Regions from separate parts of the Homo sapiens genome. Here region 2 is linked to region 1. Evidence: promoter capture Hi-C in 16 types of primary human blood cells and fetal thymus (Javierre and others, 2016). All regions are on one chromosome and are shown on one strand. The core of a region is centred on a gene start or on the middle of the fragment in contact, and the rest is flanking DNA. Distances in the headings are between cores, read along the strand shown. Region 1 holds the start of FAF1 (Fas associated factor 1). Region 2 overlaps OSBPL9 (oxysterol binding protein like 9).

What was found. Contacts are between HindIII fragments. The CHiCAGO score rates a contact against its expected background, and 5 or more counts as called.
Region 2: a fragment that was not itself captured here is called in contact with the fragment with the promoter of FAF1 in region 1 in 5 of 17 cell types (fetal thymus, activated CD4 T cells, non-activated CD4 T cells and 2 more); the score reaches 9.0 in fetal thymus.

Annotation. Positions count from the first base shown.
Region 1 is chr1:50,956,943-50,963,102 of GRCh38, forward strand. FAF1 (Fas associated factor 1) reads right to left here and starts at 3,325. Exons shown (of 19, transcript NM_007051.3): 1 at 2,825-3,325. The coding sequence starts at 2,869. It also overlaps a transcript of CDKN2C not described here. RefSeq lists an enhancer at 2,612-2,661 and silencers at 2,972-3,021, 3,132-3,291. The HindIII fragment of the contact is 1,270 bases long and covers 2,214-3,483 here.
Region 2 is chr1:51,727,974-51,734,133 of GRCh38, forward strand. The region is part of intron 4 of OSBPL9 (oxysterol binding protein like 9); the gene reads left to right. Among named protein-coding and RNA genes, the nearest start is that of MIR761, 110 kb to the right of the region's middle. RefSeq lists silencers at 1,463-1,882, 2,093-2,142, 3,348-3,397 and an enhancer at 1,607-2,127. The HindIII fragment of the contact is 2,055 bases long and covers 2,393-4,447 here.

The DNA.
Region 1 (6,160 bases), core at 2,075-4,574:
CATCTCAGAAAAAATAAATAAGTAAATAAATAAATTACCTGGTTTTCTTATAACTGAATAAATGCTTACTTTTAAGTCAATCCTATAAAAATTGAGATAATATAAAAAACAGGAAGAATCATCACTTTTTACTAAGACGATCATTTGTAAGAGAACTCCAGGTTCCTAAACACACAAATGGCTAATGTGTTTAAGGTGTGTAGTTTTCCAAATAATTTTTTCTTCTATCAATAACATTCTTTTACCTATTTGACAATATAAAATTAACATTATTAGGCAAACAATTGTTCACTGCAGATGCCATTCTATTTTTCCCATTTTTAAACAATTGTGTATAGCATTACCATTGGTCTGAAGAGAAAAACTTATTCCCATCTTATTAATGGGATCGAAATTTTCATTTTCTTTTTTTTTTTTTTTTTTTTTTGAGACAGAGTCTCGCTCTGTCGCCCAGGCTAGAGTACAGTGGCGCAATCTCAGCTCGCTGCAAGCTCCGCCTCCCAGGTTCACGCCATTCTCCTGCCTCAGCCTCCCGAGTAGCTGGGACTACAGGCGCCCGCCACCTCGACCGGCTAATTTTTTGTATTTTTTTAGTAGAGACCGGGTTTCGCCATGTTCACCAGGATGGTCTTGATCTCCTGACCTCGTGATCCGCCCCCTCAGCCTCCCAAAGTACTGGGATTACAGGCCTGAGCCACCATGCCCGGCCGAAATTTTCATTTTCATTTCCAAACCAAAATCCCTGGAAAATCTTGCTTTGCCTGAGTACAAGAAGCCTAAATTTCCTGTCCTTTAGCCAATATAAGGTTAACAGTTAAGCATAATAATTGTCACACACAAAAAATAGAAAGCAGATGCAAGTTATTAGAGATAAAAAGGTAAAATTAAAACAAAGTTATAATTACTTTATAAAGTTTTTAATGAGGGAAATCAGAAGACAATTTTGTAACACGGTAAAACTACACCTTGAAATATAGAGTCCTTTTTCAAACAGTGCATTCCACATTAGATAAAAAATGGAACTGGAGAACAAAAACAAAACAAAAAGACGATGATGAAAAACTTAGGCAGGGCTGGGTGTTGGAGCTTACACCTGTATTCCCAACACTTTCGGAGCCTGAGGTGGGTAGATCACTTGAGCCCAGGAGTTCAAGACCAGCCTGGGCAACATGGCAAGGCCCATCTCTAAAAAATTTAATTAATTAATTAATTGAAAAATTTTTTAAAATGTAGGCAGGCAAAAAGCCTCAGGCCAATCCTAAACCTACAAAACATCAAAATCTTATGGTCAACTTTTATTATAAGGACACTCCTTTATTAGTTTGGAGGTTATGGTTTAATCAAACTGTAGATATATGCATATTCCTAATACCTGTATATCAGATTTCACTGGGTAACCAAAACAGCAAACTCTGAAAATGGTTATCTGAACGTTAATTTGTAAAAATAAGGGCCGGGAGCAGTGTGGCTCACGCCTGTAATCCCAGCACTTTGGGAGGCCGAGGAGGGTGGATCACGAGGTCAGGAGATCAAGACCATCCTGACTAACACGGCGAAACCCTGTCTCTACTAAAAATACAAAAATATTAGCCAGGCGTGGTGGCCGGCGCCTGTAGTCCCAGCTACTCGGGAGGCTGAGGCAGGAGAATGGCGTGAACCTGGGAGGCGGAGCTTGCAATGAGCCGAGATCGCGCCACTGCACTCCAGCCTGGGCGACAGAGCGAGACTCCGTCTCAAAAAAAAAAAAAAATTAATTAATTTTAAAAAAAATAAGGAACTTAATAGAACAGAGAGAGAGAAAAGCCCAACAAAATTTCAGCAAGGAAAAATACTGCCTACTAAGCTAGTGTTAGAACCTGTGCAATGTGAGTATTAAAAAAGAGGGAAAAGTCTGCCTATACTTGACAGTAGCTTCTAAGTTGATGCCAAAATGGCCAAAAATATCTCACTAAAATAATTCCTTCACCAAACATCAAAAGGCAAAGGTAGCACTCACAGGATATTAGTTCTAGCTCCAAGTCTTTCACAATGCATACAGTTCTACTTTCAAAGGGCCTTCCTAAGATACTTACATGTCAGTGGCACTACGACTGGGTTTATTAAGAGAACAGCCTTTACTTATCCTTTAAAGTATTCCTGGAGAAAGGACACCAACCAAGCAATTCAAGTCTGTAGGGGAGGGGAATCCGCAAATATGAATAGGTAATTTATTAAGCTTGTGAATTCATTGCAGAGATACTCTGGAATATATAGTCTTATCTGTCTCCTTGTTATCTTCTTACCCTCCAAAGATTCCAATTAGGCAAAGTCTCAAATGTTTACTCCTCTTTGAAAAGGACCTCAGTACCCCATTGTCATTGCCCTCGCCATCTCATCATTCTGCTTTTTTACTCTTCCCTTAATACAATATAAATACACCACGCCCATAACACCACACGCTCCACGCTCACACTCCATACATCTCTCCCCACAGAACCACCCAAAACATCCCATACTTAATGGTCCAACACCAATTAAAACAAAAACTCTACACGTCCCCCCATATAATACAGGAAACACTACACATTCCACACACATTGTAACCCAAGTCATTAATACCTCCAATCCCATTCAACCCGTACTTAACACATTCTACACACTCATGATAGCATATAAATTATACGCTTCTCCATAGCTCGCCACACACACACACACACGCCACGCACCGTATAAAAGCCTAAATGACACACCACTGCAGCGTTCAAACGCTGGGAAGAAGACTCCCTTGTGGCACCGGAAACCCACGAGGTTGGAAGTGGGAGGGGAAGAGGGCCAGATACTTCACCTGAAAATCCGCCAGGATCATCTCCCGGTCCATGTTGGACGCCATGGCGGCCGCCGAGTTCCGCGGCTCCGGGAGCGAAGCGCGCACCTGGGAGGCAGACGGCACCTCCTGCGACCGTCGCCGCCACCGCCGCCGCCGCCGCCGGGCGCCGAGGGGCTGGCGGGCGAGCCGGCGGGCGGGTCGGCGGGCCAGCGGGCGGGGCAGCGCGGGAAGCGCTAGGCGCTCATGCACTCGGTAACCTTCAGGCGCCCCGGCCGCCCGCCTGCAACCTGCGGAGCCCGCGTCGCAGCAGCCCGGACAGGAAGATTGGTCTGGATGTGGGTCCGGTCTTACAGTCGCGGGCCAGGATGAGGGCAGGTTGCGACAGCGCGCACCCGGATACCTTCAGCGGCGTTAAGCCCGGCGGGGGCGGGGAAACCGAGCGAGCGAGCGGGCGGGCGAACGCCGCGGCCGCCTCCGCCTCCTCCGCTTCCTCCCTGGCCGCCGCCTCCGCCCCTGGTTGGCCAGCGCCACGGCTGTCGCACATTTTGCCTGTCATCGAGGTCGCAAAGCGCCGCTTTGCGGCTCCACGTGACCACCCTCCTGTCAAGCGCTGAGCGCGCGACTACCCGGCCAGGATCTCTGCGCTGGCGGCAGAGACTGCAACCTGCAGCTGCGGAAGCTTCAAGTCTCGCAACAGGTTATTCCAGTTTGGATTTAAGCAAAGGCCTCAGGATAGCGCCTCCCCCTAGCTGAGGCGGGGACCAGATTGTGCACCTCACGTGGTTAGTCACACAAATACACACCACCCTCACAAACCAACTAAACACACTGTTACAACTCGTCTAACAAACAGCATTTCAGAAATATATGTTTTTCTCTACAATGTTTCAGCAAAATACAGCTTCATATAGTCTCTCACGCTCAACCTGTCAAAACCGAATCCACACTGTCACACCCAGTCCCAAGCTCCCTGACGTCTGCATCCTCAGACTCCGTAACACAGAAGTAACCAGACTGCCATGGTAGACATGGGAGAGACGAGGAAGCTGAGAAAGGTAAAAATCTCGTTCCAGAGAAGAGGAGGAGCATTTTTTTTAATTGATAAGGTAGTTATGAGAAATAACAACCTCGAGTTAATAGGGTTGCTCCAAAGGGGGAAAAAAGGGAAAACCTTTCTACTGCTGCAGTTATATTTGTTTTTTTAAGCTGAGACATCTTACAAATGGGATAAAACTTGAATCCAGCTTTGAATATAGTCAGTCTATTTTTATTTATTTATTTATTTATTTATTTATTTATTATTTTGAGACGGAGTCTCGCACTGTGGCCCGGGCTGGAGTGCAGTGGCGCGATCTCGGCTCGCTGCGACCTCCGCTTTCTGGGTTCAAGCGATTCTCCTGCCTCAGCCTCCATAGTAGCTGGGATTACAGGCTCCCGCCACCAAGCCCGGCTAAGTTTTTTTTGTATTTTTAGTAGAGACGGGGTTTCACTATGTTGGGCAAGCTGATCTCGAACTCCTGTCCTCGTGATCCGCCCTCCTCGGCCTCCCAAAGTGTTGGGATTACAGGCGTGAGCCACTGCACCCGGCCTATTCATTTTCATAAGAAATTATTTTGGAATATTCACCAAATATTGAAAGTTTCAACCCATGGTCAGAAATTGACAACCTCTGTAACTAAAACAGCCAAAGACTATGTACAATGAAGTGTGACAGTTTGTAATTGTCGTCCAGGTTAGAGAAAGTGTGACAGTGGAAGTTGTTCATCCTTGACTTGGGAAAATATCAGCTTCTGGATTGTCATGGGGCATTTACTTGCTTTGGAAAGTATGTAAAAGCTTGAAAATGTGAAGTAAGATTGCTGATTTTATCCTGTAGAGCTAAAATAACTAGTGAAATCATCATGTAGCATGAAGGCCTAGGCTTCCCTTAAGAACTTTTTAAACTTGTATCATTTATTTACTTTTTTAGAGACAGGGCCTCACTATGTTGCCCAGGCTGGCTTCCAACTCCTGTGCTCAAGCCATCCTCCCACCTCAGCCTCCTGAGAGTGGGGATTACAGGTGTGAGCCATACCACCACACCCAGCAAGGCCTAGGCTCCATAAACTGGGAATATATTCATGAGAAATCAGAAATATGACCTAATTGTTCAGTTTCACTGAATATAAAGAAGTGCACTGTATTATGATCTGAGTTTATTCTGTGTGTTTCCTTAAATGAAAATAGGCTGGCCTACAGTTCTTAAGTACTAATCTGTGTTTAGACCAGAATTAGCTAGATAATAGAACCCTCCACAGTCACATGAATCAAAATGTCTTGCTTAATTTTCAGCCGTAAGAAAATAATTCCATGGCCAGGGCAGTGGCTTATGCCTATAATCCCAACACTTTGGGAGGCCGAGGCAGGCAGATCACTTGAGGTCAGGAGTTCAAGACCAGCCTGGCCAACATAGTGAAATCCCATCTCTGCTAAAAATAATACAAAAATTAGCTGGGCATGGTGGCATATGCCTGTAGTCCCAGCTACTAGGGAGGCTGAGGGAGGAGAATCACCTGAACCTGGGAGGTGGAGGTTGCAGTGTGAACCAAGATCACACTACTGCACCCCAGCCTGGGTGACAGAGTAAAACTGTTTCAAAATAAATAAATAAATATTTTTTTAAAAAGAAAGTAATTCCAAAAGTCAGCACAAATGTGAATCATGAGGCAAAACACAGCACCAATAATATAAATGTGGCAATTCAGTTGCCCCATTCATATAGGCCACCCTCAGTATAAGGCAGGTGAATAATTGTTTCTAGTTATATGGCCAAGGATTAATGCAGTCCTAAAAAGTTGAGAGTTTTTCTCTGTAATGATGCGTGTGTACCTCAGAACCCATTCAAATCCCATGTTGCTCCCTTTTTCTTTCCTTTCTCTCCATCTGGAAATTAAAACAATGTGGTATGTAGAACAATGGGATGAACACACTAGACATTCAGGCATATATTAGTACTGCTTTTCCAAATAATTAGCTGAGGGAACTTGGATGAGTCATTTAATCTCTCTGACTTCAGCTACTCACAGGACTATTTCCTCTGATAAATGAAAAAACAATTATGAAAATGCATGGAAAATATAAAATATTGGTATCACACTAACATAAATTTAATAGTCAATAATTGTGGTTTGAGTTCTAACTCTGCTCTTTAACAAAGGCTCTCTGGTTCTATTTCTTTATCTCTAAAATTGGGCTAAAAAGCTTGTGATTTTGAATGTTGAATGATCAAATGCTTGTGAAAATTCCTCATAAACCTTAAAACTCTCCAAACATATTAGTTATTACTCTGTATACCAATTCCTAAATGCTTTTCTC
Region 2 (6,160 bases), core at 2,170-4,669, 770 kb after region 1:
GAAGTAAATAAGTGAAGTGTGGGGATTGATGTCAAGGGGACAGTATAAAAGAAATAACAGCATGCGCCAAGGCCCTAAAATTGGAAAGTCCTTGGCAAATTAAAGGAGTTTGAAAAAGGCCATTGTGTGCAAAGCAGAAAATAGGTACTACAAGGTAAAAGATGGAGCTAAGCGGTAGGTAAGGCTAAACCTTGTCAGCCATTGTTAAATATTGAATTGTATCCTAAGCACAACTCAGTGGAAAGCAGTTAAAGTTCTTTAATTGGGGGAGGCAATGAAGGGGTAATAAAATTGGTTATAGAAATACTGCTCTGGCTCTAGTGTTGAGAATGAATTGGAGTAGCCAGAGTAGATTCAAGAAGACTTTAGTAAGATTATTCCAACAGGCCAGGACCTGTTATAGGGTGGTGGCAATGGAGAGAGATGGACAGAATGGAGAGTGTATTTAGGAGGTAAAAATGACAGAACTTGGTGATGCACTGAATGTGAAATGGGGAAGGTGTCTAGGAGGACTACTAGGTTTATGGTTTGCGTATTAGGGTGGATGATAGCAGTTTCATTTACTGAGACAGGGAGCCCTGGCAGAGTACCCAGCTTTTAGAGTGGGTAGGGGGAAGGGGAGAGTGCATCTGGTGTTGGGCATTTTGAAGTGATTTACATACAACAAACTGAAGGTATCTTTAACACTGAGTCCAGCAGGTTAGCATATTTATTCAGCAAGCATTGCACCTTTTTTTGTTGTTTTTGGGGTCTTCAACTCCTGGCCTCGAATCCTCCCTCCTTCCCCCGCCTCTCCCAGCCTCCGCCTCCCAAAGTGCTGGGATTTCAGGAGTGAGCCACCGCGCCTGGCCAGCATCGCGCTGTTTGTGCAGTGTGCCCTGTGCTAGGTCTTGCAGTGGGTACCAGTAGAGACATAAAAGTACAAAAGATAATTGGACGTTTAGTAGAGTCCTGAAAGGGGGCGGGATAGGAAGATACCTAACCATAAGAAAAACCAGCAAGAGCGGAAAAGGAGCTAGTCCTCCAGATCAATAAGTTAATCACTTATGTTTGTGATTCCCTGCATTTTGGGTGATTCTCTGTCGAGGTCCTCTTAAGTCCAGACTTTTGATATAATCTGCAGTTTGCGCCATTTGGATTCCTGAAGCATCTTTACAAGCCACCTACATTCCTTATGGAGCTGTGGCACAACAGCAAGCCCACGATGTCTCACCGGATTAATAAAAATATAGGCGCTCACGCTTTTGTTTACCGATATAGTATCTCCTCCTCCCCTCACTCCATCAACCCCCACGCGACACAACTTTCCGGAAGTAAGCAAAATCCGTTATCAAGGTGAAACTCCGGGGACCAGGCTCCACAGCTGCCATAAACTGGATGGCACGTTAGAAGCCGGTGGGTGTAGGTGAGGCACGCTGGCGCCCGCGGGCCCTTCTCCAGCCGCTACCCAGTGGGAATCCGCGGGGCTGAAGCCCCGAAACCAGGCTGAGCGTCCCAGAGCGCAACCTCCCTTTCCCCCAGCAGCGCCGGCGCCGCAGAAGCCGCGTGTCCCCAGGCGCACTCCCCCAAGGTGAACCCCCGCCCCCCACGGAGGCGGCTGGGTCGCGGGTCTGGGCGGGGCGCTCCGGACGCCCTCCCGCCGCTGCGCACCCCTCCCGCGAGCTGCCAGCTCCCTCGGCCTCTCCACCCAAAACTGGCCCAACCGCCAATCGTCTGCCTCTCACCTCCTACAGCAGGTGACCCATGGCCAATCGCCAGGGGTCTCTTTGCCAGGAGCCGCCAGGGCCAGCCAATCGGGGCGACCCCTCCGCCGGGGAGGGGACGGGAAAGGGGTGGGGGGTGAAGGGGGTGAAGGGGGTGTCCCGGGGGACGGGCTGAACCTCAGTCAGGACCGCCTGCACCGCAGTCCGGGGATCGGGTCGAGGGGAGAAGAAAAAGGGGTGCTCGGGAGCAGCCCCCGGCTACCTCCCCTGGAGGCACAGAGGGCGGGGGCCTTGGCGAATGGCTTTCTTGCTGGCCACTTGCGGAGTGAGTAGACCCCGAGGGTCTGGGAGAGGGGCCGGCCCCTACCCCTGAGTCCCCGGGGTCCCGGCCGCCAGGCCGGAGCGCGAATGTCGTGCTCACCCTGCCTCCTTCCCGCCGCCCCCTGGGGTGAGTAGGACGACGTGGCTGCCCGGGCCCCTCTTCCTTGGGAGTTCTCAGTTCCTCAGCCTAGATGGGGTGGAGGCTGAGGTCAGGGCCTCCAGTTCCACCGAGAGGGCATTCGCCCCCAAATGAGACTTTGGAGGAGGTCTCTTTTTTTCTATTCATTTTTGTGGAACTCTGTTTTCCTTTTGAAAGCTGTCTCAGAATATGATTTTAAGCAGAAAAGTTAAGCTTTCTCTTATGTGAAAGCTTAATTTTGACCAGTTGCCCATTAATAGAATCTCCAGTTGCAGGCCAAGTGTTTTTTGGTGGTGGTTTATTTTTGGCACGGTGTTCGTGCCTGGCCCTGTATTTTTTGTGTATAAAGTAATTACGGATGCTATTGTTTTTGAGTATGTGTGTCGGGAAGGAGGTGATTTTACGCTTTTTGGGTAGCTTGTGCAAAAATACTGAAAACTTTGGTATAGTTTTATGGGGTTCTTAGCCCAGCCGAGTTATGGAAAGTTGAGTATAATTAATGGACTAGGAAGCATATTTGAGTAATGCACTTTTTGCTGACATTCATACTGTATTATAAGTATTTGTTATGAAAGGTTGAGAGATGTATTGAACAAGAAAACCAGTTTTGCTAATTTGAAGTAATACTTTGTTTTGCTTTTTGATTAAACTGTTTACTTTTAGCTGTATTAAGGAAGTTAAAATCAAGTAATTCCTAGTTTCTCAGTGGAGAAGCTGGAAGCATCTTAGAATAGTAGTTGTAGTTTTAAAAGTTTTTACAGTGAACTTTGAAACTGGAAATTCTCACGTAGTTAATTATGAATAATCTCTCTTGAACACTGCCTGTATTGAACTAAGTAGTTGATGAAACCCTTTAATGAATACTGTTAGCACCTGTCATTTATTTATACTTTAAATATATTGCTTTACTCCCCCCCACCTTTTTTTTTTTGTGCAGCCCGACAAGAGACAACCTAAATAAAAATACCGTATTACCTTTTCTAGTTCAGGGAAGGTGTATGATTAAAAGTCAGATTTGGGCCAGTCGTGGTGGCTCAGACTGCAATCCCAACACTTTGGGAGGCTGAGGCGGGAGAATTGTTTGAGTCCAGGAGCTGGAGACCAGCCTGGGCAACAAAGCCAGAACCTTCCCCCCGCCCCTGCCCCAATAAAAATTTAAAAATGAGCTGAGCGTGGTGGTGATGTGCACCTGTGTTCCCACCTGCTTGGGAAGCTGAGGCGGAAGGATCCCTTGAGCCCAGAAGTTTGAGGTTGCGGTGAGCTATGATTGCACCGCTGCACTCTAGCCTGGATGACAGAGAGCAAGACTCTGTCTCAAAGCAAAACAAAACAAAACAAAAAGGCGGGCGCAGTAGCTCACGCCTGTAATTACAGTGCTGCCTATAATCCCAGCACTTTGGGAGGCCGAGGCGGCCGGATCTCTTGAGGTCAGGGGTTCGAGACCAGACTGGCCAACATGGTGAAACCCCGTCTCTACTAAAAACACAAAAATTAGCCGGGCGTGGTGGCGGGCGCCTGTAGTCCCAGCTACTCGGGAGGCTGAGGCAGGAGAATCGCATAAACCCTGGAGGGGGAGCTTACAGTGAGCCGAGATCGTGCCACTGCACTCCAGCCTGGCGACAGAGCAAGAGTCTGTCTCAAAAAAAAAAAAAAAAAACTCTTAAAGAAAAAAACAGATTTGTAGTCTGATTTGAGAGCTTAAGTGAGAAACAAGAAAGACAACAGACAAGTTTCATCTGTTTACAAAGTGCCCTGAGTTTGGCTTTGACAGAGATGACGATGAATTTGGAAGTGCCCTTCAGTAAATACGAGGATGCAAAGGCTGTCTACTGGTCACGTTCATTTTGGTATTTCTAAAGTTCTATGATATTTTTAATGTGAAATTTTTCAAATGTTTTTTAATGTGAAAAGATTATTATATTTTGTACGCTCAGCCATCCCCACTTCAATCTCTGTTGATATTAAGATTAGTAGGGAATTTAACTGTAAGTTTGGTTCAGCCAGGAAAGAGCATTATTTTGTTAGCACCATGTTCTGCTGGTTGGAAAGTCAGGCACTCACATGGTTTGCACGCTGTTGATTAAGAAAGGGGACGATGACAAGAAAATCTGATAATCAGGCTTTTGTTCAGAGAAGCAAATTCTAGGATGTCCCCTGGGGTATGTTGAGTTCTATCTGTAGCTAAACTTTATACTGTAGAGCGAAAACAGATATTTATGATGATTCTTATATAGAAAAAAGACTTTGTGATTACTGTAGTATACTTAGAAAATTATATTTAGGAAGCTTTTCAGTAAAGGTTTAAACAAAGATTGTTAAGCTTGAAAGAATAGTTCTTATACTGACAATGTAATTAAGCCACGTATTCCTCCTTAAATATTTTAATGAAGTTCTACCACACACAGGCATTTAAAGCTACTTTCCATCTTCCTTATTTTCCATCTCCAGTCACCAGGTCCTGTTATGTTTGCCTTAGTAATATTTTTCAGATTCGTCACTTTTTTCTAGATGATAATGCTTTAATTCAGGCCATCATGGTCTCTCACCTAGACTTTTGCAAGGCTTTCTGACTAGTCTGTCACTGGACTCCCCTTACCCCATCCTTTTTATCCAAAAACAAATTTGGAATGGGTTGCCGCTCTTATAGTTAAGAATGTGTTTTGGCTCCTCCTTGCCAGAGTCCAGCTGCCCAGCATGTCCTGGAGGCCCTTCTTCATATTCTGGTCCTGATTTATCTCTGAGTCCAGACTCAGCTCCAGGTGCTTTACCCACGGCATCCACTGTGAACTGTTTCTCATTGAGAACATGCCATAGCCTCTCACAGTTATTTGTCTTTTCACAGCCTTTCCTTCTTGCTTAGATTACCCCACTGTATCTCAAGTGGTAAGCCTCCAGTTCTTCCTTAGCATACAGCTCCTGTGTTAACCTTTTCTATGATGCCTTCCTTCAGGCAGGGTGAGTTTGTTACTCTTGTGTGTGCTACTACAGCACTTTGCTCATATCTCCATATCACAGCCTTCACTAAGTTGTATTGTAAATTTTTAAACATATGTGATTCTTGCATTAAACCCTGATTTCCTAGAGATCTGGGGTTCTCACTCATCTTTGTATCCCCGGGGCCTTTGTCCCTAGTTTAGTGCATGGCACATAGTAGGTGTTCAGTAAGTGCTTAAGTGATCAAAATATGTGACGATAATAGCTTAAGTGTGTAAACCTTTGACTCAGTTTTACTGGAGTTAGGTTTTTCCCTGTGAGTTAAAAATGCTTCCTAGGTCACCAAGCTCCCTGGTTGCTACCAGACATGAGAAACGGGGGATTGGAAAAATGTTTAGAAACAGTGCTAAAAATGGTGAGCAGGGCCGGGTGCGGTGGCTCACGCTGTAATCCTAGCACTTTGGGAGGCCCAGGCTGGCAGATCACCTGAGGTCAGGAGTTGGAGAGCAGCCTGGCCAACATGGTAAAACCTCATCTCTAATAAACGTACAAAAATTAGCTGGGTGTGGTGGTGGGCATCTGTAAGCCCAGCCACTTGGGGGGCTGAGGCAGGAGAATTGCTTGAACCTGGGAGGAGGAGGTTGCAGTGAGCCGAGGTCACACCATTGCACCCCAGCCTGGGTGACAGAGCGAGACTCTGTCTCAAAAACAAACAAAAAAAAAAGTGGGCAGACTTCCAGGACTCCCCACCTTCCCCTACCCAATCTATAGGACCTCTAACATGATTAAAATAATACTAATAGTAGTACGAGTACTAATTGGTTCTGGAGTATTGTTAGTATCATAGGAAAAAGCATGTAGGCTAGCTAGAATGTCAGGGAAACTGCTTTAAAGGTGAAATTTGAGCTCATTCCAGATGATTAGGTAATGCTTAATTATATTTGCTATTAATATTATCTCTATTGTCCTTAAAGACATCCTTTGAAGATGATGATAGTACCTGGCCATAATAGACATTAAATAAATATATGTGTCATGAATGAATGGTTTGGTTGCTCTGTAT